Linked DNA regions of Homo sapiens: all the other regions are linked to region 3. Evidence: promoter capture Hi-C in 16 types of primary human blood cells and fetal thymus (Javierre and others, 2016). All regions are on one chromosome and are shown on one strand. Each heading gives the region's core, a stretch centred on a gene start or on the middle of the fragment in contact. The rest is flanking DNA. Distances are from core to core; before and after follow the strand shown. Region 1 has its middle 88 kb from the start of MTDH. Region 2 has its middle 64 kb from the start of MTDH. Region 3 holds the start of PTDSS1 (phosphatidylserine synthase 1). Region 4 has its middle 39 kb from the start of MTDH. Region 5 holds the start of TP53INP1 (tumor protein p53 inducible nuclear protein 1). Region 6 holds the start of CCNE2 (cyclin E2). Region 7 has its middle 2.8 kb from the start of NDUFAF6.

Region 1 (4,121 bases), core at 952-3,451, 1.3 Mb before region 3:
CGCGCCTGTAATCCCAGCTACTCAGGAGGCTGAGGCGGGAGAATCACTTGAACTTGGGAGGCAGAGGTTGCAGTGAGCCGAGACCATATCATGCCACCGCACTCCAACCTGGGTGACAGAGTGAGACTCTGTCTCAAAAAAAAAAAAAAAAAAAAAAAGAACATGCAGCTGGCTTGCAGGTCCATTTGCTGACCTCTGCTTTTTTTTCTCTGAGACAGAGTTTTGCTCTGTTGTCCAGGCTGGAGTGTGGTGGTGTGTCTGGAATTGGTGGGTTCTTGGTCTCACTGACTTCAAGAATGAAGCCGCAGAACCTCGCAGTGAGTGTTAACAGTTCTTAAAGGTGGTGTGTCCGGAGTTTGTTCCTTCTGATGGTCGGACGTGTTCAGAGTTTCTTCATTCTGGTGGGTTCATGGTCTCGCTGGCTTCAGGAGTGAAGCTGCAGACCTTCGCGGTGAGTGTTGCTTCTGGAGTTGTTCATTCCTCCCCGTGGGTTAGGGGTCTCGCTGGCCTCAGGAGTGAAGCTGCAGACCTTTGTGGTGTTACAGCTCATAAAGGCAGTGCAGACCCAAAAACTGAGCAGCTGCAAGATTTATTGCAAAGAGTGAAAGAACAAAGTCTCTACAGTGTGGAAAGGGACCCAAGTGGGTTGCCGCTACTGGCTAGGACAGCCTGCTTTTATTCTCTTATCTGACCACTCACCCCCGTCCCACGCCCCCCCACATCCTGCTGATTGGTCCATTTTACAGAGAGCCGATTGGTCCATTTTACAGAGAGCTGATTGGTTCATTTTACAGAGATGGCCCTTGGGCGGTTGATGGGACCGGGCGCCGCCGAGCAGGGGCGGTGTGTGTCCGGGAGGCTAGGGCAGCGCAGGAGCCAATTGCCGGGGAGGAGGGGTGGCTCGCGCATGTCCGGCTGCAGGTGCCGAGCCCTGCCCTGCGGAGGCGGCTGAGGCCCGGCGAGAATTCAAGCGCGGCGCGGGCGGGCGGGCAGTACTGGGGGACCTGGCGCACCCTCTGCAGCTGCTGGCCCGGGTGCTAAGCCCCTTACTGCCCGCGGCCAGCAGCGCTGGCGGGCCGCTGTGAGTGTGGGGCCTGCGGATCCCGCGCCCACCCGGAACTCGCGCTGGCCCGCTAGCGCCCTGCGCAGCTCCGGTTCCCGCCCACTCCTCTCCCTCTACACCGGCCTGCAAGCAGAGGGAGCTGGCTCCGGCCTCAGCCTGCCCAGAGAGGGGCTCCTACAGTGCAGCGGCGGGCTGAAGGGCTCCTCAAGCGCGGCCAGAGTGGACGCCGAGGCCAAGGAGGCGCCCAGAGCGAGCGAGGGCTGCTAGCATGTTGTCACCTCTCAGTGGCATGATCTCCATTCACTGCAACCTCCACCTCTCGGGTTCAAGCGATTCTCCTGCCTCAGCCTCATGTAGCTGGGATTACAGGCACGAGCCACCACACCTGGCTAATTTGTTTTGAATTTTTAGTAGAGAGGGGGTTTCACCATGTTGGCCAGGCCAGTCTTCAACTCCTGGACTCAAGTAATCCACCTGCCTCAGCCTTCCAAAATGCTGGGATTACAGGCGTGAGCCATCACGTCCTGCCCTGACCTCTGCTTTCAGCCACAAACTTAGGTAAAAGAAAAGTAGCTTTTGCTCATAAAGTGATTGGAGACAGCCTGTTGTCCAACAGTGTCTCCCTTATTGGACCATGACTTTTCCCAGGCAGGGGCCATGTCTTATTTGTGTGTATATTTCCATCACCCAGCACAGCACTTGGCACGTGATACAGGTTCAGTATATATTTTCAAACAAATAAATTGAAGTGAAGAATTGAGTCAAGGAGACAAGACCTTTGAAGGCCAAAAGATCGAAGTTTGTGGTAATGAGACATCGAGCTCTGGTTTGAACTAAAATCCTTTGAAGTGAAAAACCTCTTGAGTGGTTGTGAAACTTGAACTTACCATAAATATCTCTTCGTATTTTTTGAGCCGATTAATCCATGGCTCCCATAAAATCTTCTGCACATTAAACAACAGGGTAAGAGCACCACGCCTTCCTCTGCCTCCACCGCCAACTTGGCGGAGACTAGACCCAAGGATGCAGGAGCCGTTCCTCTCCGTCTGAGCCTGCTGGGCTGAATGGGCATGAAGAAAGTTGGAGAACAGAACGTGCAAACCGGGTGAGTTGAAGTGGGTTCCTGCTCGCTGGAACTGGAGAGAAGTGTCATTTCCAGCAGGAGGGCTGCTTCCAGTACCTGGGGCTACAGAGAGGGACTGGGCCACATCTCTGATTAAGTTTCTCTTCTTTCCTTTCTGGGAGATGGATGTAAACAGTGACTGGTTTCTTTGGACAGAGGCTACCTGTGCTATTGAAGGGACAAAATCCACATGCCCTACATGCAAACTCACACTCCCATCTTTCCCTATTTATCTCGTAAGCTCACAGTTTGCTGGGCACGGTACAAGATGCAAATGAGGAATAATGAATGCTTATAGTGTGAAGGTGTTAGCTCCAGTTTTGCTCAATTCCCTGAGAATTTACATATTCTGGTCCACAATACCTTATCCAAAACCCTCAGGGCCATATACGTTTTGGAATTCAGATTATTTTGGGTTTCAGAAAGGCAAAACAGTGCACATGTTATATATTATGTAACACCCCCAGCACAGCCTGAGCAAGCACCTTTTCACCAAACACATTAATATTTGTGTAGAAAAACATGAATAGTCACACTCAGCAGGACCAATGACGACTGTTGGTGGTGTCATTCACCTCAGGTCAGGCTTTGCCACCAAATAAATTTTGATGCCAAATACATTAAAAGAAAAATAGGTTCTCAGAATTTTTTGGATTTCAGAAATGTGAGTAAGAGGTTCTGGGCCTGTATTCAGTCTTTCTTTCTTCTTTTTTTTTTTTGAAGACAGAGTCTTGTTCCGTCACCCAGGCTGGAGTGCAGTGGCACTCATAGCTCACTTCAACCTTGACCTCCTGGGCTCAAGTGGTCCTTTCACCTCAGCCTCCCAAAGTGCTGGGATTACAGGTGTGAGCCACTGCACCTGGTCAATGTTGTCTTTCTTAAAGTACTATCTCCCAATGATTCATTATTAATTTTCCTATAGAAGCACGTCTGTATAGTGCATCATGCTCTGTGTAGTAATCTCATTTTCAGACTTGAAACTGTTCCTCATGGAGTCATCAGTACACTGCCTTACACATAGTAGGGGCTTAGTAAGTGTTTGTTAACTAAACACACAACAGTCTTTCAAAATAAAAGTAATGATATATATTTATATTTGCAGTTGATGAAACCAAGGCCAGGAGGCTCCAGGATGTGGCACAGGGAAACAGGGTCTTTAACTTCTTTTTTTTTTTTTAGAGACGGAGTTTCACTCTTGTCGCCCAGGCTGGAGTGCAATGGCGCCATCTTGGCTCACTGCAACCTCTGCCTCCTGGGTTCAAGCGATTCTCTTGCCTCAGCCTCCCTAGTAGCTGGGATTACAGGCATGTGCCACCATGCCCGGCTAATTTTTGTATTATTAGTAGAGACTGGGTTTCACCATGTTGACCAGGCTGGTCTCGAGCTCCTGACCTCAGGTGATCTGCCCACCTCGACCTCCTAAAGTGCTGGGATTACAGGCGTGAGCCACTGTGCCCGGCCAGGGTCTTTAACTTCTAGTTGTTTGTCCTTGTCATTGCTGCTTGTTTGCACACAATGAGAGTGATGGTTTGTATATATGTCAGGGGTTAAAAGGAAGAGAAGCTGGGGCTCAAGAAGTGATTCTCAGCAGGGGGCCATTCCCCCTACCCAGCTTTCCCCATCCTCCCTCCAGGTGGGAAGGAGGGGAAGTTGACAATGTCTCGAGATATTTTCGGTTGTCACAACTGAGGGCAGGGTGCCATGGCATGTAGTGGGTAGAGGCCACGGATGCTGCCAAACATCCTCTAATGCACAGGACAGCCTGCACTGTCCTCTATGTAATAACCAAGAATGAGCCTGTCCTCAAAGTCAATAGTGTTGAGGTTGAGAATGTAGCCTAATTCAGAAAAAACCCCACTCAAAGGTGTTGAGTTAGGAGAAACAGCTGATTCCTTTCTGCATCGTGACTGTCCATGTTGCTTTAGGCAGATCCTC
Region 2 (4,056 bases), core at 1,065-3,564, 1.3 Mb before region 3:
CATATGTTGGTTTCCTTTATCTGCTAGACTCAAGCTTCTATGTGTTGGTTCCTACATTCATAGCTATACTATAAATTACCTATATATTTGGCCTGAGTCTTGCCCTCTCTCAGTCTTTTCTAATATGTCACCTCTTGAGAATTGGTTTTAACTCACTGGTTCATAAGAGATACACATTTTCTTTCATAGTCATTGTCATTATTCTCAATGTAGATCTGTCTGTTCAAGAGGTCCCCCCAAACCTTTTATTTATTTATTTATTTTGAGACAGGGTCTCACTCTGTCATCCAGGCTGGAGTGCAGTGGCACGATCTCGGCTCACTGCAGCCTTGACTTCCCTGGGCTCAAGTGATCCTCCTACCTCAGGCTACTGAGTATCTGGGATTACAGGTACCCACCACGATGCCTGGCTAATTTTTGTATTTTTTGTAGAGATGAGGTTTTGCCATGTTGCCCAGGCTGGTCTTGAACTCCTGAGCTTACAGGTGTGTGTGAGCCACCACACCTGGCCACCCAAGCCCCTTAAAACTTGATTTTATAATTAATGTGTGCTACTTTTGTACCCTGGTCATTTTACCTATTATATTTAAAATAAGCCATGCAATTAGCTGAGTGGAAATGAACACATATTGTTCTTTTAAAAAATAAAAATAACTAGGTGTGGTGGCATGTGCCTGTAGTCCCAGCTATTCAGGAGGCTGAAATGGGAGGATCTCTTGAGCCTGAAGGGTCCTGGCTGCAGTGAGCCGAGATCACACCACTGTACCCCAGCCTGGGTGACAGAGTGAGACCCTGTCTCAGAAGAAGAGAGAAATATTTAATAAATATCCACACTGAATATTAAATACCATCTTATGTAGATGATCATATAATTTTCTCCTTTATTTTATTCATATGGTAAAATCACATTGATTGATTTTTAAGTATAAATTAGCCTTTTGCTCCACTTTTGTTTTTTTAAAAATATATTTTTAAATTAAATTTTATTTTATTTTAGTTTTTGAGACAGGGTATCGCTTTGTTGCCCAGGCTGGAGTGCAGTGGTGCGATCTCGGCTCACTGCAGCCTCTGCCTCCCAGGCTCAAACCATCCTCCCACCTTAGTGTCCTGAGTAGCTGGGACTACAGGCACGTACCACCATGCCTGGCTGATTTTTGTATTATTTGTAGAGACAGAGTATCGCTATTTTGCCCAGGCTAGTCTTGAAGTCCTGGGCTCAAGTGATCCACCCACCTCAGCCTCCCAAATTATTGGGATTACAGGCGTCAGCCACCTTGCCTGGCCAGTCTTGTGTTCTTGGAATAAGCCCAGTCTCGATGGGATATATAGCATATAGCCATATTTGATTGGCTCATATTTTGTTTCAGATTTTTGCATCTATGTTCATAAGAGAGAATGGCCTACAATTTTTCTTTTTTGCAGTATCATTATCTAGTTTTGCTATCATGGTCAAGAAGACCCAATAAAATGCAATTGGATCATAAATGCCGCAGATCCCCTTGCCCTTTGGGTGGGATAACTCTGAGGAAAAAGGTCTCCTTGATTTCCCCAGTGGACTCAAGCTCCAGTTACTCACAGTGGCAGTTTGTTTAAGAACCAGCTTTTTTTGGCTGTCTTATCTTTCTTGTTTCTCTTCCTCACTTCCCTAATAATGCTTCCTGACATCACCTCCTTATGTTCAAATCCTTCCCTGGGGATCTGCTTCAGGGGGAACTCAAAGTCAGGATCTTGAGCTCTTAATTCCTGGCTATTTTTGTAGTTTTCTGATGCTTTTAAACAAATGACTTTTGTATTTTATCCAACTTTTCTAGTTGTTCCTGGTAGAAGAGTTGGTTGGGTGTAATCTAGTCTATCATGGCTGAAAGCAGAAATTTAAACGTATATCTAGCATAAAAAAAAGAAACACCATAGTATAATTTGGTAACTTTCCTAATAGTTGGATTCAGTCTTTAATATTTTATCAGTTCTGATGTAAAGTAACCCTGATAAAATAGCTAGTCCTACTCTTTATTTATTTATTTATTTTTTGATACAGGGTCTCGCTCTGTCACCCAGGCTGGAGTGCAATGGTACAATCTCGGCTCACTGCAACCTCTGCCTCCAGGGTTCAAGCCATCCTCCCATCTCAGCCTCCTGAGTAGCTGGGACTACAGGTGCATACCACCGTGCCTGGCTAATTTTTGTATTTTTTGTAGAGACGGAGTATTGCTATGTTGCCCAGACCGGTGTTGAACTCTTGAGCTCAGGTGGTCTGTCTGTGTTGACTTCCCAAAGCTCTGGGATTACAGGCATGAGCCACCACACGCAGCCTACCAGTCCTAATCTTTATAATTCACTTCAAAGTCTTATCTTGGAGTCAGGACTCTCCTGAAGAAGGAACACACTTTGGGACTTCAGGCCAGTTTTGGGCACCTCCACTTCTCCCAGCTGCCTGGATGCCTCATTTGCATGTGGCATTAGCCAAGCTAATAAAAGGTAAACCTAAGTGTATCCTCCTAGCCTCCTTACTGTCTTGGGAGGCTGCCACCTTCCCTGATTCCCCTGTATTCTCTTCAAAGCAGAAAGAGAGACTGCAGATGATCAACCCCACATTCACTCTGATGACAACAAAACCTCCTTTCTCCTGAACAAAAAGAATCCAATTTCTACATAACCTAAAAAGGGAAACATTTCTGTTCTCAGCCACTATTGCATCTTGAGTTTCTTATATATTGCTTCCATGTTCCTAAATTTAAATGATAGCATTTCGTTTGTTTGAGTTGTCCCTAAATAATACACAACTTTTATAAACAGCTTTACTTAAAAGGGACATACCACTTTTTACAGAATATTTTTCAAAAACAGCTTTGAAATCATAGTTAGCATTTAAAGAAGAATGTTGTCCTATTCTTTTTTCTTATCTGTTTTCCCTTCTGTTTCCTTCCAGAACAATCCATTTCAAAAGCCATTATTAGATGGGGTTGGGCAGGTCAGTGACAAAAGGTAGGGTATCAGTGTCTGAACAAGTTCAGGTGCGGAGGCATGCAGGGAGGAAGACCAGGGCGGGGTGTTGGAGCCATGCAGAGTGAGAAAGGCATGCACACGAGGGGCTGATGGGGGCCTGGCACGGGTGTCAGATACCAAGCAAGGTGGGATGCACATTCCTATGGTAGCCCAGCATGTGGCATCAGAGGCCAGGTGGGGTGAGGAGGGCTTTAGATGAGGGGAATCAGCAGCCTGGTGCTGGGTGTGGGAGTCCGAATAGGGTGAGAGGGGCCTGCCTAGGGGAGGGCAACCTGGCAGGGGGGTGTCAGGGCCTACAAGGTGGGATATTACATATAGTAGTGCTCCAATATGTCAAGATATGGAGGAGAGTAGGAGCAAAGTTTCTCACTGTCACAGAAGGAAGTGAAAATATGGAAAGGGAGAAAACTGATGAGCTCTCTACTGTTAGAGTTTGGAATTGGAGATATTACCGTGAGTTCATAGTTTTCAGTATACACAGATGGGTAGATATGGGAATCAATATAGATATGTGTGTGTGTGTGTGTGTACGTGTGTGTGTGTATGCGTGTGCATATGTATGCTCCCTAGCTTTGCTCCTTTTGAGGGCCTGAGTGTAGTACACATCAAGAGCAATGAGCAAATCTAGCACTGAGGTCTTGATTTTTAAGTACCATTCTCCACTAAAAGGATCCAGGACCCCTTGGAGAAGTGGCTGATACAGGGTTTGAGTAGGGAAGCACAGGATGAGCCTGAAATATCTTGTTGTGCCAAAGGATGCAGAAGCCAGCTTGATAGGAATGGATTAAAATCCACTGAATAAAATAGAACCATGATTCAATATGACGTAAATAAGTAAATGACTAACTTGAAAGATTGGTGAGGAACAGGATGTCTATATGTTCTCAAAGTACCTCCCTACAAAATATGTATTAATTACAGAGGGGAGAAGTGTAAATTTACACTGGAGAAGTCTGGTAGATACCACCTTAATCAAGTGATAGAAGTTAACATCACCAATAATAGATTCTGATGGAATGCATCGAGAAGAACTCAGCATCACTTCCATGATAT
Region 3 (3,628 bases), core at 401-2,900:
AATGCATTCACACACATTCATTTAATTTTCATAACCCTATATAAGTAGATATTTCATCCCCATTTTACGAGTGTGGCCCCTGAGGCTCAGAGCAAGGTTATGCAACTTAATTAAGGACACACAGCCAGTTTTGAAACCAAAAGTGTGGCTCAAAAACTACTCTACTCTAAGTTGGCCTTTTAAGCCATAATGGTGAGAGAGGTGTGACTTCCCTTTCTTTAAAGAGGTTCATTCAGAAAGTATAAATCATTCTAAGTAGGAACCACGGTGTGTACCTCCTTATGAACCAAGGATGAATTAGTTCTCTAGGTTAGGAATGAGGAGCCACAGGCGCAGTGCCAGAGTTAACATGAGGTGTGTTCAAGATTTGGGCTGGGCAGCTCCTATGAACCGGTATATATTAGAATGTGTGTGTATGTTTTCCAGGGAATAAGAGAGTTGTGTTATGCTGTGTGAGGTTTATGTGTTTCATTTAACACACAGCAGTTACTATACCCCAGGCACCATTAAAATTGCTGGACAAGATCACATTTCAGCACGTATGTTAGGTAATGAGTGAGCAGGGTATGCACCGCGTGATGTGTGGCGGGCTGGTGTCTGTGCAGCCATGTACACAGATGATGGGTATTGGGCTGTGCTGGAAAGGAAAGGTCCGCTGTGAGGTGTGTGTTTAGAGTGGCAGTTTGTGCCGTGGTACAGATGGTAGTGTTTGAGGCTGGGGGAAGTGTTATGCTGGATGACTTGTGTGCAATGCATACGGGAAGTGCTGCACAGGAAAGACCGTGTATGCAGCACACATGTGCATTTTTTGTGCGTTACGGATAGTGCCGAATACCGGAGTTCCACAGGAAGGGATCTAGGTTGTGTCCTGGGCCTGTGTATGGTGCCTGCAGGCGCTGTGGATTGGGGTGCTTTGTATGTGTAGCGGTGTGTGCTGAAAGTGGTGCATACGACATGATTCATGCGGTGTGCTGGGTAGGGACGAAGGCTGGAGCAGTGCAGAGGAGGGGCCCGCGTCGTGATGTTGTGTGGAGCGATGCTGAGTGCGGTGGGTGAGGGGGCGATCGTGCTAGGTGACTCGCGTGCGTTCCCCGTGTAACCGGAGGCGCTGTATGGAGAAGGGGCACTGAGGGGTAGGGGAGCAGGCTAGCGTACTGTGAGACACCGGGCGGGCGGAGGGGCCGCGTGGGCGGCGGGCTGCCAGTGCGTGTGCGTGGAGCAGCCAGCCCACTTCCTCACCCAGAGCCATGCCGGGCCCCCCTCCCCGCCACCCTCCCTCCCGCCTCTTCCCTAGCCCTTGGACGCGCCCCCCGCTCGGCTGGGCCGCCCCACCTGGTAAAGGCGAAGTACATGAGGCTGACGATGGTGAAGCTGAGCAGGGTGATGGTATGCGGCCGGTAGAAGAAGTCAATGGTGATGTCCTCCACTTGCTGCTCGTTGATCATCCGGAAATGCATTTTGTAGTTCACATCATCCTTGCTTAGGGTCCGGCTCCCCACGCAGGACGCCATGGCCCGCCTCCCCGTCCTGCCGCGGTGGCGGCGGCCCCAGCCCGAGAAGGCCGGGACCCCGGGGGTGACTAGCCACAGTAGGCTAATAGCCGGACGGCAAAGCCGGGTCTGGCGCCCAGCAAAGGCTGGGAGCAGAGGGAAGGACAGGCGCGAGAGGGCGGGGTCGCGGCGCCGCCACCGCGGCCTGGGGCAGGGGACGCCGCCGGCCGTCCCCACGCTGTCATCCTAGCTGAGGCATCTCTACCACTCGAGGAATTTTCAGACTCCAAGTCCACAGGACTTCAGAGGAATAGCGAGCCGGAGAAGGGTAGCCGGGGCCCCTGGCTGGCTCTTTTCAGAGCACGTAGCCCGCTGTCTCCCCGCGTAACCCGGCACATGGTCTCGCCCACTCCGGGCGCGGCCCACGTGGGCCCGGGAGCGCGGCTGCGCTGTGTAGGGCGGGCTGAGGAGCCGGCGTGCGGCGCGGCGGGACGGGACGTGCGGCCCAGCGAGTTGGTCGGTCCCGGGGTCACCCGCTACGGGAAGCAGGCCTCGCCACAGGTAAAGCAGGAGCTGCCCCAGCACGAGGATCGCGCTCCTGGCGAGGGTTCAGGTTCCGGCGCACCCGCGTCCAGACCGCGCCCCAGGGCCTCAAGGGCCTTTAGGTTTTCGCGGCCCAGTAGAGGGTGATTGGTTTTGTTTTGTGTTTTTCCCTGGCTGATGTAGTGAAAACTCAACCATGCTGGCTAATTAGCGCAGTGTGAGAAGCCTCAGGAGGGGGCTCTGCCTTCCTGCGCAAGTTTGGGGAACTGAAGTGGGCTAAAATGGCCTGGGAAGTATTGAGAGACCCTTTATTAGGAAGCTGCCCCCATAACCTCCCTTTCTCTCCTGATTTCATTTATAGCATTTCGTAGGTAGAAATCTTGAACTCTATTTCAGTGCCTTTTTCTAGCGAAGCACTAGGCACTCATTGAGAACAGTATATATGAATTGTTAAGAGACTTCAGTTTCTTTAAGGGTTTTCTGTAATTTTCCTGATGAAAGGACCTTGTTAGAAGACTTCAGGTTACCACCTTACAGGGCTTTTATACACATCTGCACATCCCCTACCCGCTTTTGCATACTGTGTAAGCAAGTGAGTTAACTGTACTTGCCATTGATTTATTTCCATTCCGCAAACATTAGAGCAGTACAAGGCTCTGGGAAAGTGGAGAATAGTCCCCGGAAGGATGGATCCAGGGATGAGACCCAGCTCTGCTCTCGTGCATGAACAGTTAATCAATTGTTAAGATGTGTAGGCAGCAATGAAAGGATGTGGAGAAGATAGTGCACTTGTAAATAAAAATGCAAGGATAAACATTAGTTGTATGCACAAAGATCTTTTAATGACGGGGTGAAATTTGAAAGTGAGTCTTCCTGATGTTTAAGTGGTATTGAGTGTGGAAAGGCTTCAGGATGAATTTGGGATTTCAGGAGTTTGAAGTAGGATGAAGTGCTTAGACGTCAAAAAATGTTAGAGCTGATAGGGGCCTTAAGAATCATCTTATTGTACCCCTAGCCTTTTAAAAAAGCATTATTTGAAGAATAGTTATTGACCCCACCCCCACCCCCCACATCATGGGCTAGACTGCTGCTTTTGTTAGACTGCTGCCAGAAACAGCCTTGTCAAGGTAGCACAACCGAGGTCTTCTGACTTTCAATTTAGTGCCCTTATGACTACCGTGCAGAGAATGAATGTTGTAGGTTTGAGGGAAAACTTGGCACATTTGGAGTCCCATTTCCCACCAAAATCTAACAGAAACCACCTATCCCAGCAGGGTATTGTGAATACTTACTTCTTTTCTAAAATCATCGCAGAATGGGCCGAGCGCAGTGGCTCACGCCTGTAATCCCAGCACTTTGGGAAGCTGGGTGGATCACCTGAGGTAAGGAGTTCGAGGCCAGCCTGGCCAAGATGGTGAAACCCCGTCTCTACTAAAAACACAAAAAATTAGCCGGGCATAGTAGCGGGCGTGGGTAATCCCAGCTACTCGGGAGGCTGAGGCAGGAGAATCACTTGAACCTGGGAGGCAGAGGTTGCAGTGAGCCAAGATGGTGCCGTTGTACTCCAGCCTGGGCAACAAGGGCGAAACTCCGTC
Region 4 (3,909 bases), core at 354-2,853, 1.3 Mb before region 3:
CCTTGAGGACCATATGTCTTTTTGCCTGTCTCCAAGTATATTGCCTGCTTTTTCATTCCTTGAAAGGCTCAGTAATACTTTTTTTGGTAAAGTGTTGAAATAGGCTTTTTACTATGAATAGAAGTAGTGATACATTTTCCTTGGCATGGCTTGGACATGCTATTGTTTTCCCAATTATTTTTGTTATGTATTTTGGAGAGTTTTTTTTAATTTTTATTGTTTTGAGACAGAGTTTCGCTCTGTCCACTGCCCAGGCTGGAGTGCAGTGGCGCGATCTTGGCTCACTGCAACCTCTACCTCCCGGCCTCAAGCAATTCTCCTGTGTCAGCCTCCCGAGTAGCTGGGATTAAGGCATGCACCACCATGCCCGGCTAATATTTTTTGTATTTTTAGTAAAAATAGGGTTTCACCATGTTGGTCAGGCTGGTCACGAACTCCTGACCTCAGGTGATCTGCCCGCCTCGGCCTCCCAAAGTGCTGGGATTACAGGCGTGAGCCACCATGCCCAGCCAAAGTTTTTGAATGGCTGAAACCCAGATGCCAGCTGTCCCCAAGGACACCTTCTGTTCTCATTTCATGCAAACCTAGACACATGGCTTGGCATCATTATGCAGTCTCCAGAAAACCCACTTATGAGACAATGGTTACTTAGTATGTGGATTTGAGTCTTTTGCTACATGATCTTTGATACATTAATTAACCTCTCCAAGCCTCAGTTTCCTTACCTCTAAAATGGAGATTATGGTAATAGTACCTACCTCACAGTAGGTACTACTGTGTTGTGAAGATAAAAAAATGATGATTTATGTTAATTGTTCAATAAATTGTAGCTGTTTTTTAATCTGCAATATAGATTTTTAAAAATTAAGGGAAGTTTCTAATGTATATAAAAGTAAAGAGAAAAGTACAATAAACTGCCATGTACTGGTCTTCCAGCTTCAATGATTATTAGTTCATGAACCATCTTATTTCATCTTATTTCTCACTCTTTACCCATTTGAAGCAAATTTCAGATTTCATATAATTTTACTCATAAATATTTCAGTATATATATATATATATATATATAAAATTTATTTTTTTGAGATGGAGTCTCACTCTGTCACCCAGGCTGGAGTGCAATGGCGCCGCTCTTGGCTCACTGCAACCTCTGCCTCCTGCCTCAGCCTCCTGAGTAGCTGAGATTACAGGTGCCTGCCACCATGCCTGGCTAATTTTTGTACTTTTAGTAGAGACAGGGTTTCACTATGTTGGTCAGGCTGGTCTCGAACTCCTGACCACAAGCAATCCACCCGCCTCGGCCTCCCAAAGTGCTGGGATTACAAGCGTGAGCCACTGCGCCCAGCCCTAGTATATGTTTTTGAGAGATAAAAAAGCCTCATGTTGTAAAATAACCATAATGCCATTATCACATATTAACATTAATAAAAATTCCTAAAGGCCACCACCGTGGCTCACACCTGTAATCCCAGCACTTTGGGAGGCCACTGTGGACAGATTGCTTGAGCTCAGGAGTTTGACACCAGCCTGGGCAACATGATGAAACCCTGTCTCTAACAAAAATACAAAAAAAATTAGCCGGGAGTGGTGATGCGCACCTCTGTTCCCAGCTACTCGGGAGGCTGAGTTGGGAGGATCACTTGAGTCTGGGATGTGGAGGTTGCAGTAAGCCGAGGTCTCGCCATTGCACTTTGGCCTGGGCGACAGAGACAGACCCTGTCTCAAGAAAAAAAATTAAAATCTTTTTTTTTTTTCCAAGGCAGAAGAGTTTTTCTTAGTACAGAACAAAATGGAGTCTCCCATGTCTACTTCTTTCTACACAGACACAGTAACAATCTGATCTCTCTTTCTTTTCCCCACATTTCCCTCTTTTCTATTCGACAAAACCGCCATCGTCATCATGGCCCGTTCTCAATGAGCTGTTGGGTACACCTCCCAGACGGGGTGGCGGCCGGGCAGAGAGGCTCCTCACTTCCCAGATGGGGCGGCCGGGCAGAGGCGCCCCCCACCTCCCAGACGGGGCGGCTGGTGGGGAGGGGGCTGCCTCCCACCTCCCTCCCGGACGGGGCAGCTGGCCGGGCGGGGGCTGCCCCCTACCTTCTGGACCGGGTGGCTGCCGGGTGGAGACGCTCCTCACTTCCCAGACGGGGCGGCTGCTGGGCAGAGACGCTCCTCACCTCCCAGACGGGGTGGCGGTCGGGCAGAGACACTCCTCAGTTCCCAGAGGGGGTCGCGGCCGGGCAGAGGCGCTTCTCACATCTCAGACGATGGGCGGTCGGGCAGAGACGCTCCTCACTTCCTAGACGGGATGGCGGCCGGGAAGAGGCGCTCCTCACTTCCCAGACTGGGCGGCCGGGCAGAGGGGCTCCTCACATCCCAGACGATGGGCTGCCAGGCAGAGATGCTCCTCACTTCCTAGACGGGATGGTGGCCGGGAAGAAGCGCTCCTCACTTCCCAGACTGGGCGGCCAGGCAGAGGGGCTCCTCACATCCCAGACGATGGGCGGCCAGGCAGAGATGCTCCTCACTTCCCAGACGGGGTGGTGGCCGGGCAGAGGCTGCAATTTCGGCACTTTGGGAAGCCAAGGCAGGCGGCTGGGAGGTGGAGGTTGTAGCGAGCCGAGATCACGCCACTGCACTCCAGCCTGGGCAACATTGAGCACTGAGTGAGCGACACTCCGTCTGCAATCCCGGCACCTCGGGAGGCCGAGGCGGGCAGATCACTCGCAGTCAGGAGCTGGAGACCAGCCCGGCCAACACGGCGAAACCCTGTCTCCACCAAAAAATACAAAAACCAGTCAGGCATGGCGGCGCGCGCCTGCAATCCCAGGCACTGGGCAGGCTGAGGCAGGAGAATCAGGCAGGGAGGCTGCAGTGAGCCGAGATGGCGGCAGTACAGTCCAGCCTCGGCTCGGCATCAGAGGGAGACCCTGGAGAGGGAGAGGGAGAGGGAGCGGGAGCGGGAGCGGGAGCGGGAGCGGGAGAGGGAGAGGTAAAATTTTTTTTAAAGCCACTGTTCAAGTTTCTAATTGTCTCAAAGATCATAATTTAAAAAACTGATTTACTTGTTTGACTCAGGATGCAATTAATGTCCACACATTGTGATTGTTGATGTGTCTCCTAAGTCTGGCTTAATCCATAATTGTTCTCACCCTTTCTTTGTTTTTTCCCCTTGCAATTTAATTGTCGAAGATTGTCATGTCATGACATTGTCATGTGGATTTTGCTAATTGCACCCCCATAGTGTGTAGCATGTTCCTTTGTCTCCTAAGGTTCTTGTGACCTGGTAGTTAGATCTTGAAGCTTTGTCAGCTTCAAGTTTGAGTTTTCAGCGAGACCACTTCATAGGTTATATAGTCCTTCCATCCATAGGTGTGATTGTCTCTCTGTGATACTAGCAGCCATTGACGGTTAATGCCTAGGTCCATTAATTCATTAGGGATTGCAGAATGGTGACATTCTAATTCTGTCACTCATTCTTCATTTTCTAGCTGAATACAATTTGTTTACACAGTGGAATAGTTTGTATAGGAAGGCAGGATAAATGCTTGATTCTTTCTCTTTATCAGCTTTCAAAATAATAAGCTGGCTCATTAGTATCCTGCAACAGTGATCAATTAGGCTATATTTTGCTGTACTGCCTTTGCAAACTCATAAAGTAAACATATTGGAAATATTTCAAGCTCTTGCTATTATTATTCATATTTATGCTTGAATTGTTTCATCTCTTGCCAGTGGGGCTCTCTTTAGGTTGGCACCTGAGCCCTTTTGACATGATCCTGTGGTCTGTGGTAGCCCCTTCGTTGTCTGATATGACAAGATGTTCTAAGGTCATGTATTTGTCTGGCCCCTAGAATTAGTTCTTTCTAAAGAGTCTTGTTTCTTTTAGTGGGAATAGTATTTAAGGTC
Region 5 (4,107 bases), core at 1,600-4,099, 1.3 Mb after region 3:
AGTTGCATTGTATCTGTTTGTTGGTGTGAATGTGGTCCTGCACTGTGAGTCTTCCAAACAAAACTTGAGGTTGAATCCCTTTTGTTAGGGTAGATAAGGGAGCGTATTGAGCTCCATGGAAAACAGACAGGAGAACTCTGACAGATGGGGAAAGGGTCACCCCCACAGCAGGGGGTCAGCCTGGAAGTGGGTACTATAGCAACACGCTAAGAATTATTCTGTGAATTAAAGGATGGTTGGATTCACTGGATCTGCCCAGGCAGGGAACCTGGCTGGGTCTTTGTCAGTGAACAGATGAAAAGCTTGCTTGCATTTGTGTAATTTGACAGTTTGGTTGTGTTCAGACAGCTCTACGCTATGGAGATGACATTACTCCTGAGTTTCACTGCATGCATTTATGTAAACCAGTGGCATACCAGGAAGGGAGGCAGTGGGAGTGATCCACCCCAGATACAGGCAGTACACAGTAAATTTGTGTGTCTGCAAAGAATTTTAAAATAAAATTGACTAAAAGTCAGTTTGCTTTTTATTATTATGCTCCAACAGTTCCAAACAATGTCGTGGTAAAGTACTCCTCCCTCCTAGGGACAGACTTCACCTATGCTGCCCTGAGGCACGCCCTCCTTGGTGCACCACTGGGAATAAACAAGCACCAGGTGGGAAGATTATAAATCAGCAAGAGAGTAAACAGAAAGCAAGTGACTCCTGAGACAAGATGTTTTCATCACAAACACTATTTGGTAGAGTTTAGAGTCACTGATCTGTGATGGGCATTTCTGTTAGCTTTGTGTTTTGGTTATCGCTGCTTTAAAAACTACCCCAACATTTAGTGCCTTAAAACAATGATCATTTATTTGTTCACAATGCCGTCATTTTGGCAGTGCTCCGTGGGGATGGCTTATCTCTCCTCTGTTCAGTATGGTGTCTGCTGGAGCTGGAACTTCCTAAGGGCTTTTCCACTCATGTGTCTGGTAGCTCAGCTGGGATGAGCTGAAGAGCTAGAGCTGGCCAGGCATCTCTTTCTTTTCACATAGCCTCTCCCTGTGGCTAGCAGGGTGGTCTCTCCTCATGGGTGGCTGGCATTTTCCAGAGTACAAAGCAGAAGCTGTGGGGTTTGCTTAATGCTTTTGCTTAATGACGAGGCTTGGAAGTCCTAGAACATTCTTTCTGCCACATTCTATTGGTCAGAGCAATCACAGGGTCAGCCCAGATTCAAAGGGAAGAAAAATACACCCACTTCATGATGGAGATACTGTTGTGGTCATCTTTGGAAAAATGATCTACTTCATATTGAATTTTTCTATCATAACAAGATGATGATTTCACATGTTGCTTTAACCATGATAAACCTTATCAAACTGGAAAAAGGTAGGCCTTTTTCTTTTTAAAAATTAGCCCCTTGTAATTGTCATCATACCTTGGTTCTGAATGTGGAGATGGCCTCTTCAATGGATTCCTAGGGAGAAACAAGAGATCATGGGGCTCCTACCATAGCATGTGGGAGAAAATATTAGAACAAGCCTGATTTGCAAAAACCTAAAATCCAAAGCATGTTCAAGTCTGTGAGACTATCTAGAACACAGTTTTAGCTCTTTCTCCCAAGATAAGGTCCAATGACCATCATATTTTGATCATTACTCCTTGGTGTCTGACAACTCCCTGCACTGCAATTTACATCCTTTAAAACCAGCATTGTTGGAAATGGACTGACTACATTGTGAGGGTCAGAATGTGAGTGTCTTTCAGATACTGTAATGTGTGATAGGCATCCCTCCAGGGTTGCTATACAGCTCACCCCAGGTCAAAGAACTACATCCCAGTCCAAACAGTATCCACATGAGAGCTGATAGGCATCAACGTTACTCACCTGCCTTTGCCAGACAGTTAATCCACCTATATGTGGGACAGAGCCTTGGTCTGGAAAACACTTTCAAGCCCACTGTCTCACTCTCTTGTCACTATAAATAACCTGGTGAGTTGGCAGTCCCGGCGTGAATGCCCACAATTTGCAGGTATGCAAACAGAACAGAGGGGCTAAGTTCCGTGGGTCACATGAGAGCTAGGCTGCAGCGCCTGGGGAGGCGGCCGTTCCCGCCCGGTGCGCTTGTTGTCCGCTGGAGCAGAGGCCCCCGAGCCTGCTGACCTCTCTGCCTTCAGGCCTGGTCTCGCAGTCCCTTGTGCCTCGCCTATAGGCAGGCGGAATCCAGAGCGTGCAGCAAGCCCGGCCGGCTCTCGGTGGCGGTTTCTACAGCAGGTGGGGCCTGGCTCCGTGATTGAGCGGCCTCTACCCCTCTATCTGGGGCCCAGCAGCGGCCCCCTCCCAGCACCCTGGCTACACGTCTAACCCTAGGCTGACCAGGTGGGGCTCTCGGAGGCGTTAGCCCCAGCCCTCCCAGGAGTCTTAATGTTCCTCTCACAGGAAAAAACGTTCTGCGCCCTTTGTGCCCCAAACCCTCGACCCTTCACTCGGCGAGAGGGGTCGCTGAGGGAGAGATCCACCTCTGCCCTTCCCGTTGCCCGCCGGTTCTTCCTCGCCCGCCTCTTACGCACCCCGCTCCCGCCGGCTCCTGGAAAGCCGGCCCCGGCCCCAGCGCTTCCCTCCCCGGCCTAGCCCCTCTCTCCCACCCTTCCGCTCGCCCAGGCCTTCACGCTCAGCTCCCGGTTTTTGTTGCCCGGGCTTGTTTCGGAGCTGAGCGCGCCGCCGGCCGGGCGCCAGGTCACGTGCGTTGGTGACAACCTCTCGCAGGGCGGCCCCGGGGCCCCCGCACCGCCGATTGGTGGGGCCCGGCCTGGCGCGGCCCGGGGCGGGGCAGCGGGGCCCGACGGCGAGCGGAGCGGCCGATCAGCTGTTGCGAGCGCTGCACAACAACAAAAGGACTTGGACTGGCCGGCCTGGGCGCAGCGACCCGAGGGCTGGAGCCGGCCCCGCGCCTGCCGTCTGGGTACCTGAACGAGGTGCAGCGCAGCCCGGCCCCACCGCAGCTACCTCAGCAGTCCCGCCCCGCCCGCGTCCTTCCCCGCCGAGCCGGCGGCCGCTCCCTTCCCCGCGCAGCCCCGCACGGCCCGGGCCCACGTAAGTGCCGGGGGGGGGCGGGCGGGCGTCCGTCCAGGGCCGCCTCGCTGCCGGTTGGGGCCGCAGCGCTGCCCGCTCCTGAGCCCGGCGGGGCCGGCCGCGCGCCCTGCCTTCGGGGCGCCGGTTGCGCGTTCACCGAGCCCCCTCGCTGCCTCCCCTCGCCGCCGCCGGGCCCGGCCGCCCACCCAGTGGGTCGGTCCTCGGCGGCCCCCGGGGCCCAGGGCGCGGACAGAGGCTGACAGAGGCGGCGGCGGCGCGGACAAGGGCCCGGCCTGGCCCCGGCGCTGGGCGGCGGTTGGGAGTTTGGTCTCTGCCTCCTCCCCCGAGCGTGGCTTGTTTTCTTGGCCGCGGCGGGACCTCCTCCTCTCACCCCTCCTCACTCCCCTCCACTCCTCCTCCTCCGCCTGCTCTCGGCCGTTGGATGGGGCCGCCCCTTCGGGACTCGGCGTCGGGGCTCCCGCGGCCACCCCCGGGACGCATCTCCGAAGACAGCGGCGCTTGGGCTTGTGGCCCGGCGCTCTGTCCCCGCCCTGCGATCCCGTCCCCTGCGCCTGCCCTCCGAGTTCCGGAGGCCCTGCGGCTATGGGGAACCTGCTCCGTGACCCGGCCACCGGCCCCCGCCTGTCCGCGGCCTGTCCCTTGCTTGACCTGGCTTGAACTCAGTCTTCGCTACCTGACTTTGCACCTGTGGAAAGAGCGCTCTCCTTGGCCCTTAACATTTAGATCCTTTGGATCGCTCACGCTTACTGAGCGCTGAGTATGTGCCATATACTATGCTGGGGGCTTTGCTTTATCGCCCCAGTTGATTCTCATAATAACCTTATATGAAATAGGCCCGGCTATCTTACACATAGGAAACCCGAGGCACAGAGAGATTAAGTTGCTCAAGGCCACACAGCCAATTAATAAAAGGAAATGGTGTTTGTATTTCAAAGTGGCAGCTGAATTTTACCTGGAGAGTCTGTTTTGCTTGTATTTTCTGATTATATCTGCTCAGTAGGTTAATTCCAATACAGAGTGGATTAAGGAAGAGC
Region 6 (3,843 bases), core at 1,076-3,575, 1.4 Mb after region 3:
ACAATAGGGGAAATATACTTTAGGTGAATTTTAAAACGGATAAGTAGGAAAAGAGCAAGCTAAAAACAAACATACCCGCCCCCTACCCTTTATTTTCTCTTTTTTTAACAGACCCACTTGTCTATTGACCAGGTATCTGTAATATGGGAGAATTCACTCTATTCCTTTCCACACAAAGACGTCTTGGAATTTTCTAATTTCTCCTTTACTATGATTGCATTCTGTTCACATAATAGTCAAGGGTATGGAAAGAACATTTATAAGAGCAGTGTCTTTTAAAATCAATTTACTAGTTAACTCAGTACTGAGCATACATTCATCATTCAAAGATGATTCCCACAAACGTTACTCGACATACTGGTTTTCAGTATATTTTATCAAATTCAACCACGAGGGCCACCAGTTCTGCTTACGATCAGGTGACCCTTGTTGGGAGACCCCTGACCCCTTTTCTTGACATCATGCTGTTAGACCTTTAAGCTAGCTATACCGCTAACTGCGTTTTGAGTGACTGCAAAAGGGAGGCAACTTCTGCCCCGCCGAGAGCCATCCTAAGCGTTAGAAATGGCAGAAAGTTTCTTGGGACTGACAAGGCATGGGCTTCTCCTGATGCTGTCACCTTGGGCAAAGCTCCTACAGGTAAATTAGGGAGAGAATTATTTTGCCGGCGTCACGAGACGAAGAATCGAAAAAGTGTGAAAAAGGACTTCGCCCGCCCCAAAGCGCCCATCCGGCGGCGGCTATTTCCCGGGCCTCAAGCGCGCTCGAGCGGCGCAGCACAAAAGGCCGGGCGGGAGCGGGGGTCGCCGGGCGCCGCCTCCCGGTGCATCTCGGGAAGGGCTCCCGCCCGCGAGGCTCCGTCTCCCCGGCGCGGCCCGCTCGCCGTCCGGCTCGCTCAGGGCCTGGGCAGACGCGGCCCGCCCGAGCTACCGCGGGTTCCGAGACGCCTTCGCACTGCTCCTCCACCCGGGGGATCTTTGTTCCCGGAGCTGTTCCCCGCCTCGCTGCTCCCGCCGCAAAACCTGTTTGCGGAATACCCGCCGCAAGTCTGACTTGACGATGTGCAGTTTTGGGGTGCGCCAGTTGTGGGGGCATTCATAGAGGCAGCGAAGGGACCCCTAAGTTTAAACACCCGGGGAAGGATAAAGGAAGAGCGTCGGGCCCCCCTCCTCCCAACAGCGCTCGGGCGCGAACGGCGCCCTCCCGCGCTGCCGGCTCGCGCGGGCTCCGCAGGGCGCGCTGGCGGCGGCGGCGGGGCGGGGCGCGGCAGGCGGGCCCGGGGCCTGCACGTGGTGGCGATCTTTCTTCCCACCCGGCCAGGTCCCCGGGGACCACCGCGCTCAGGGGGAGGAGGAATGCCGTTCCCGGGCCCCGCTCCGGAGAGGGGTTTTACCCTCTGGGATCCCGGAATTGGAGGTGGAGAAGAGAGGAAGCAAGGGAGGGCGCGGCGTGGCGCGAGCGTTTCCTGCGCGGGGACTGCGGGGTGGCAGCTGGAGGCCACTGCAGGGGCAGAGCGGCGGGTTGGGGGAGCGACCGACCCATGGGGAGGGAAACCCGGTAGGGGGAGCAGGGAGCCGGAAAGCAGGGTTGATACATACCTGGGTGGGCGGGCTGGAAATGCCTTCCCTGGGCGCGCCGCGCAAGGCCGGCGGAGCGGGCTCCGGGTGGTCGCGGACCGGGACTGGGGAGAGCAGAGCCGCACTTGGCCAGGCGCGTGGCTGAGTGGTGTTTACATTCTGCAGCCACTCCACGTTGTGCTGCCGCCCGTGCCTCCCATTGGCCAGCTCTTCAGCCAACGCTTTGCTCCTCCCCGAGGGGCGGGCCCTCGGGTCCCCGCGTCGCTCAGGAAAGACCTGGGTTCCCTGAGGCCTTGGCGGGACAGCTAGGGCGCGCCCCTGGACGGTCACTTCCCAGCCACCCTATGGTCGCCCGAGTCGTGTCCCCCTGTTATGCGCCCGGGCTGAGCCGCAGGCTGACACCCCCGAAATCCAGGAGTTGCAGTGGGAGGAAGCAAAAGCAAACTGGCGGGAGATGCGCGAGCCAGGCGGCGGGGAGAACAGCCGCGGAGAAGGAGCCCCTGAGAGTTTCCCTACCGCCGCCGGCCGCGCCGTGGAGCGCGGTGGACGCGGGCAGAAGGCCCGGTAGAGTGGACCCCACGGCCGCTCCGGGTGGCGGGCGCGCACTGAGAGCAGGGCGCGGCGCGCGGGCACGCGGGCGGACGGGCGGGAGAGGGGAGCGCGCTGTCCGGAGGTGTCAGTCTGAGGCGCATGCGTGCGGGGCGGGACCGGCCCGGCCTATATATTGGGTTGGCGCCGGCGCCAGCTGAGCCGAGCGGTAGCTGGTCTGGCGGTGAGGAGTTGCTGCGCGTAGGGGGGATGTGGGAGGAAAGAAAGCCCAGTTGGGCCGATCACTTACCACAGGCGGGAGCCTCAGGGAGGAAAATCGGGAGGGCTGAGAACTAGACGACTGGGGGTCATGGGTTCCCGCGTTCCGTCCCTGTCAGGAACCTTGGCAGGGGACCGGGAAGCGGCTGGGCATGGAGAGCCGCCCCTCATTCTAGGGGCTTCTCTATCCCACCCTCATTTGGGGAGCTATCCCGTGGGAGAGAGGATGGGAGGCCGGGTCCCCTCCATGGGGAGAAAAGTTCCCAGCCAGCCCAGTCTCCCCTTTCTTTAGCTCCTTTTCCTGCCCTCCCCCACGCCCTCCGCTTCCCATCTGGAGTTGGGGTCCCGGCGCCCCTCCGAGCGGCGGTAGGGCGGCAGGGCCGGGAAGGAGGGAAAGGAGACTGGAGGCCGTGACACCAGTCTTGGTTCCTCCGCCCCCTGCTTCCCCGCCACCGCCGCTCTCCAAATTGGCGCGGAACCGGCTTCTCCACAGCATTTCGCCTCCACAACCCCCTCTCCCCGCTGGTCCAGGAGGGAGGCGGGACGTGGGGGCGCTGCCCAAGCCCCACTCCCGGTGTACGGGGGAGAGGGTGGAGGACCCAGAAAAACCCGTTTGAGGAAGATGTGCCTCCCTGCGCGTTCAAGGTGTCAGGAGTGCTTGGTAAATTTTTGGACACTCGCGTTCCAGCTGTACATTCAGTTGAGGAAATGCAGGCTTGTATCCAAAATGAATTACCATGAGCTAGCTAACATAGCACAGAAGATGGCAGGGTCACAGGGCCCAGGCCCCCTTCGGAGGGACTGAGCTTTCACCTGCGAATCAGCGTCTTACTGGCACTTGGAGAATGTGAATGACAATGTACTTGACTGCGGCTTTTCCTCTCCCCCCTTCAGAGGTTTTATACACCTGAAAGAAGAGAATGTCAAGACGAAGGTAACATTATCTGTCTTAGAGACATGTTTCAAATTAGTTGCTGCCTTTAACTTACTAATTACACTTCCTTTTTAAAAATTCACTACAGTAGCCGTTTACAAGCTAAGCAGCAGCCCCAGCCCAGCCAGACGGAATCCCCCCAAGAAGCCCAGATAATCCAGGCCAAGAAGAGGAAAACTACCCAGGTGATTTAAGGAGAAAGAGGGAGGAACGAAATTCCATGCTGGGACTTTAGTTTACCAATGGTCTTTTCTATTTTCCAGGATGTCAAAAAAAGAAGAGAGGAGGTCACCAAGAAACATCAGTATGAAATTAGGGTAATGCAGAACTGGGCTGGGTGGGTTTGGGGGAAAAATGGAGGATAGATGAATAAGAATAGAATTATGTGTTTATTGCTTTGCGATAGATTCCTCTGACACTTTTACTTTTAATGCCCCTAGAGGTCAGCAGGAAGGCGCCTATCTTTGGGTGGTTTCTATGTGCCCGAATCCTACTACAGCTGCAGAATAAGTGCCTTCAAGCAGC
Region 7 (3,558 bases), core at 621-3,120, 1.2 Mb after region 3:
TCTCACTCTGTTGCCAGGCTGGAGTGCTGTGGCTTGATCTTGGCTCACTGCAACCTCCGCCTCCCGGGTTCAAGCGATTCTCCCGCCTCAGCCTCCCGAGTAGCTGGGACTACAGGTGCACGCCACCACGTCCAGCTAATTTTTGTCTTTTTAGTAGAGATGAGGTTTCACCATGTTGGCCAGGATGGTCTCGATCTGACCTCATGATCCGCCCACCTCAGTCTCCCATAGTGCTGGGATTAACTTTGAATATTTGTTCACATGGTATGTTGGCTTCCTTTGGTACTCTTACTTTCAGGGCCCTCAAATATTAGAGGTGGGTCTAGCTGCTACCAACTAGCTGATCCCAGCCAGCAGCTGCCTACACTTGAATCCCTCTTGCCTCCAGATTTGCCTAGACTTTTCTTGCTATGGCCAGACTGGTTCTTTCTAAAATGTCCATCTGATCATGGCGTTTCCCTACTTGACAGCATTTACTGTGTGTTATATGCAGTCCGTCCATGATGTGGCCTCAATTTACCTTTCTGCCTCAACTCTGGCCACTTGCCTTTGTGACTCCAAGTTAATGTTTTTGTTTAAACCCAAGGTAAAGCACCTTGTCCTCTGGCCCTAAGAACTCTAACCAATTCATGCAACTTTGGTTTTTACTCTCTGAAATTACCTTTCTTCATCCTGTGTAGTAGCAGAACCCCGGTGGTGGGTGTTACCCTTTCATCACCAGTGACTGGTCCAGGACAGTGCATATTTCCCTGATCTGGCCAATTAGACTTGAGAACAAGTCCACTGTGGTGCTTCTGGGAAAGTTGCTTCACTAATAAAAGGAAACATAAAATTCAATATACTACATATGAAATATTCTTGGCAAAAAGGCTTAACATAAAGTTAATTAAGCTTCTAAATCTAATTTTAAAGTTTATAAGAAAAAGACAAGAAACAAGATAAATCGACACCACAGGGAAACAAATCAGAAAAATTCGAAAGAAAAACCCAATGTCACTCCTGCGATTAGGTTATAAAAGGTCTGCACCTTCCATATTTCATCTTGGGTGCTCTCTCTCTCTCTCTCATCACTTACTCTGTGGGAAGCTAGCTGCCATGACACGTGAGGGGGATTAGTCCTTTGTCTGTAATATAGATCATTATTATTTTCCTCAGTTAGGTTTTAGTTTTGTCTTTGCTTGTGGAATCTTTGCCATGCAGAAATTTTGCAATATATTTTTATCTAGTCAAATTTACAATATTTACTTTTATGGCTTCTGGATTTTGCAGTCTTTAAAAAGGCCTTCCCCATTTTAAATGTGTTAAAAGAATCCCTTGCTTTCTTCTAGTCCTTCTGGTTTCTCTCGTACTACTTGTAGATTTCACTTTTTTACATTTCTTTTTTTTTTTTTTGGAGGGGTAAAGATTAGGAAGGTATGAATCTAACTTTTTTCTTTATATCTAGTAGTTGTCTTACTATCATTTATTCAGTAGTCCACCTTTTCCTCCTTTGATTTGAGATGCTTCCTTTTTCACAGAATAAACTCATGCATATACTTTGTGTCTATAGTGTTCCATTTGTCTATTAATGTTCTAGTAGTAAACTCTTTTAACTATTGCGTCTTTAAAATATGTTTTCATAGATATCTAGTAGGGCTAGTCCTTCTTCATTACTCTTTTTCTCTTCCCCGGTCTTCCTGGCCATTCTTGTTTATTTTCCCATTTGGCTTTTAGGATCAGCCATTCGATTAAAATAATTCTGAAGGTATTTTCATTACAGCTATGTTAAATTTATACCTAATGTATGGAAAACTGGTATTTTTATTATATTGAACCTTCATAAACATTTTTAATTACAGCATTATAGTTCATCTTATCAACAGATATAACACATTAACTATGCCCTTATTCAATCCTTATATTTTCCACAATTAAATACTTTTTAGATGAACCACTACTAAAAAGGAAAAACAATTTTTCTATACTTATGCAACCCTTCTGACACTACATGTATAGATCTTCCACACCAAGCATTTTCAGGACTACACAGTTAGGACAGAATCCACAGGTTCAGAGTTCAGTCTCACAAGGCTGCCCCCTACTTTGGACACCAGTAGCAATTAGTGAGTCCTTAGGTTACCCATGCTTTTGTTTGACTTGGCTACAAATCAAGGATTTTCAGGACCTTCCTCCTCAGGTTTGATAATTTGCTATGATGGCTCCCAGATATCAGGGAAACACTTATATATATTTACTGGTTTATTATAAAGGATATAGATAAAGGTCAAAGAACAAATATAACACATTTATAACAAAAGATGCTGTCCCTTAATGGTCCAGAGAACATGTTTCTGACTTCCTGCCAAAAGGACACATACTGAGTTTTTTTCTTAGAATGACAGTGACTTGTGAGGAGCTGTTCTATGCACATACTGCCTCCTGATTCGTCTAGCAACCAGTAGCACGTGCCAAGAAGGGAAAAGGCTCACAGAGTTGGAAATATAGTCTGTTGCCTTGGGATAGTGTTTCTGGACAAAACATTCTTCTAGGGAAATAAGAAATTTCATCCTAGCTGATCCACAATTCTATTGCATAACTGAAGGTCACACCTGGTGCTAAGTTAAATGTTTGTCACTAAAGAGATTTCCATTTGGCAAACAAAATATTGTGGGATTATGCTGTTCCCTCTTTCTGGATTGTCCTTGTGTGCTGTATCTTCAAGGAGGCCATTTGGTGATAATCCCAAATCCCCAGCCTTTAACCAGCCACCTACGGCCTCTACAGACTCCCAAGAGAGCTACACAGAGGACAGTCCTGGCAAATGGGCAATGTTTATTACACTGTTTTTACAAACCCCACTGCTAAGCTTGTCTGGATCACTTCAAAGGCAAAAAGACATGTAGAAAGACAAACCCAACAAAAATGGTGTGATTCAAGACCTAAATCAAAGTAAGCCGCAACCCAAGGCTTTCCTGAGATTTGGGGTTATAGGAGGAGAGCTCTAAGTTTGTCCTTGTCACCACAAAAGTTCTAATGCCCTTTTTCCCTTTCATGAACCTCTACTCATCCCCCAAACACCTAATTAAACACCTCTTCCTTCCTGAATTTTCCTTGACCATAACCCCATCCAAGAAAAAAAGAGTTGTTCCCCCAGTTTTGATCCTATAACAATTTGTGTTCATGTTTGATCACTTTGCCAGGTCTTACTGTGGTGATCTGCTTATATGGCCCTCTTCCCAGACTGCCAAAGGTAGATGTTTTCTTACTCCTCTTTTTATCTCCAGTGCCTGGCCAAGTGCCTGGCATTGGGAGGTGTTAGTGTATCGTTCTGAAGGCCAAGTTTTTTGGCACCGGAAATAAGACACCAGGTTATGCAGTGTGTGCACTGCACAAACATGCCTGGCTAAGGGAGCAAGAGGGGCTGGTGTGGGCTGGTGTGGCATTGTCTCTGCTCAGAGGAAGGGTAGCCTTTCTCTTCACACAGAGAGGCATGTGCCTGCAGGGCTGCCTCAGCCCAGATGGGGACCTTCTCATTTATAACAAGGCACCATACAGGCTTGCAGTCTTAGTGACTGAAAG

The links. The method cuts DNA at HindIII sites, captures the fragments that hold promoters and counts their contacts. A CHiCAGO score of 5 or more calls a contact.
Region 1: a fragment that was not itself captured here is called in contact with the fragment with the promoter of PTDSS1 in region 3 in 10 of 17 cell types (M0 macrophages, total CD4 T cells, M2 macrophages and 7 more); the score reaches 11.4 in M0 macrophages.
Region 2: a contact is called between a fragment that was not itself captured here and the fragment with the promoter of PTDSS1 in region 3, in 4 of 17 cell types (M0 macrophages, naive B cells, M2 macrophages and 1 more). The highest score is 9.6, in M0 macrophages.
Region 4: a contact is called between a fragment that was not itself captured here and the fragment with the promoter of PTDSS1 in region 3, in 2 of 17 cell types (megakaryocytes and M0 macrophages). The highest score is 7.7, in megakaryocytes.
Region 5: a contact is called between the fragment with the promoter of TP53INP1 here and the fragment with the promoter of PTDSS1 in region 3, in 2 of 17 cell types (total CD8 T cells and monocytes). The highest score is 6.7, in total CD8 T cells.
Region 6: a contact is called between the fragment with the promoter of CCNE2 here and the fragment with the promoter of PTDSS1 in region 3, in 12 of 17 cell types (total CD8 T cells, activated CD4 T cells, naive CD8 T cells and 9 more). The highest score is 12.6, in total CD8 T cells.
Region 7: a fragment that was not itself captured here is called in contact with the fragment with the promoter of PTDSS1 in region 3 in 1 of 17 cell types (activated CD4 T cells); the score reaches 6.5 in activated CD4 T cells.

Annotation. Positions count from the first base shown.
Region 1 is chr8:97,553,968-97,558,088 of GRCh38, reverse strand. No RefSeq gene overlaps it. Among named protein-coding and RNA genes, the nearest start is that of MTDH, 88 kb to the left of the region's middle. The HindIII fragment of the contact is 6,759 bases long and covers 1-4,121 here.
Region 2 is chr8:97,578,251-97,582,306 of GRCh38, reverse strand. No RefSeq gene overlaps it. Among named protein-coding and RNA genes, the nearest start is that of MTDH, 64 kb to the left of the region's middle. The HindIII fragment of the contact is 4,555 bases long and covers 37-4,056 here.
Region 3 is chr8:96,259,924-96,263,551 of GRCh38, reverse strand. It overlaps PTDSS1 (phosphatidylserine synthase 1), which reads right to left and starts at 1,650. Exons shown (of 13, transcript NM_014754.3): 1 at 1,333-1,650. The coding sequence starts at 1,511. MTERF3 (mitochondrial transcription termination factor 3) reads left to right here and starts at 1,942. Exons shown (of 8, transcript NM_015942.5): 1 at 1,942-2,051. RefSeq lists enhancers at 725-964, 1,110-1,802, 2,285-2,344, 2,496-3,189 and silencers at 1,115-1,294, 1,345-1,714, 1,895-2,044, 1,797-2,121. The HindIII fragment of the contact is 8,922 bases long and covers 1-3,628 here.
Region 4 is chr8:97,603,407-97,607,315 of GRCh38, reverse strand. No RefSeq gene overlaps it. Among named protein-coding and RNA genes, the nearest start is that of MTDH, 39 kb to the left of the region's middle. The HindIII fragment of the contact is 3,404 bases long and covers 1-3,305 here.
Region 5 is chr8:94,948,120-94,952,226 of GRCh38, reverse strand. TP53INP1 (tumor protein p53 inducible nuclear protein 1) reads left to right here and starts at 2,849. Exons shown (of 4, transcript NM_033285.4): 1 at 2,849-3,073. It also overlaps a transcript of NDUFAF6 not described here. RefSeq lists enhancers at 1,994-2,043, 2,214-2,383, 2,250-2,879, 2,880-3,508 and silencers at 2,504-2,613, 2,694-3,073, 3,294-3,433. The HindIII fragment of the contact is 4,012 bases long and covers 305-4,107 here.
Region 6 is chr8:94,893,683-94,897,525 of GRCh38, reverse strand. CCNE2 (cyclin E2) reads left to right here and starts at 2,325. Exons shown (of 12, transcript NM_057749.3): 1 at 2,325-2,349; 2 at 3,279-3,318; 3 at 3,407-3,503; 4 at 3,582-3,635. The coding sequence starts at 3,305. It also overlaps a transcript of NDUFAF6 not described here. RefSeq lists silencers at 736-955, 1,236-1,285, 1,456-1,505, 1,636-1,735, 2,116-2,335 and an enhancer at 2,952-3,513. The HindIII fragment of the contact is 5,265 bases long and covers 1-3,843 here.
Region 7 is chr8:95,020,423-95,023,980 of GRCh38, reverse strand. It overlaps a transcript of NDUFAF6 not described here. Among named protein-coding and RNA genes, the nearest start is that of NDUFAF6, 2.8 kb to the left of the region's middle. The HindIII fragment of the contact is 1,954 bases long and covers 894-2,847 here.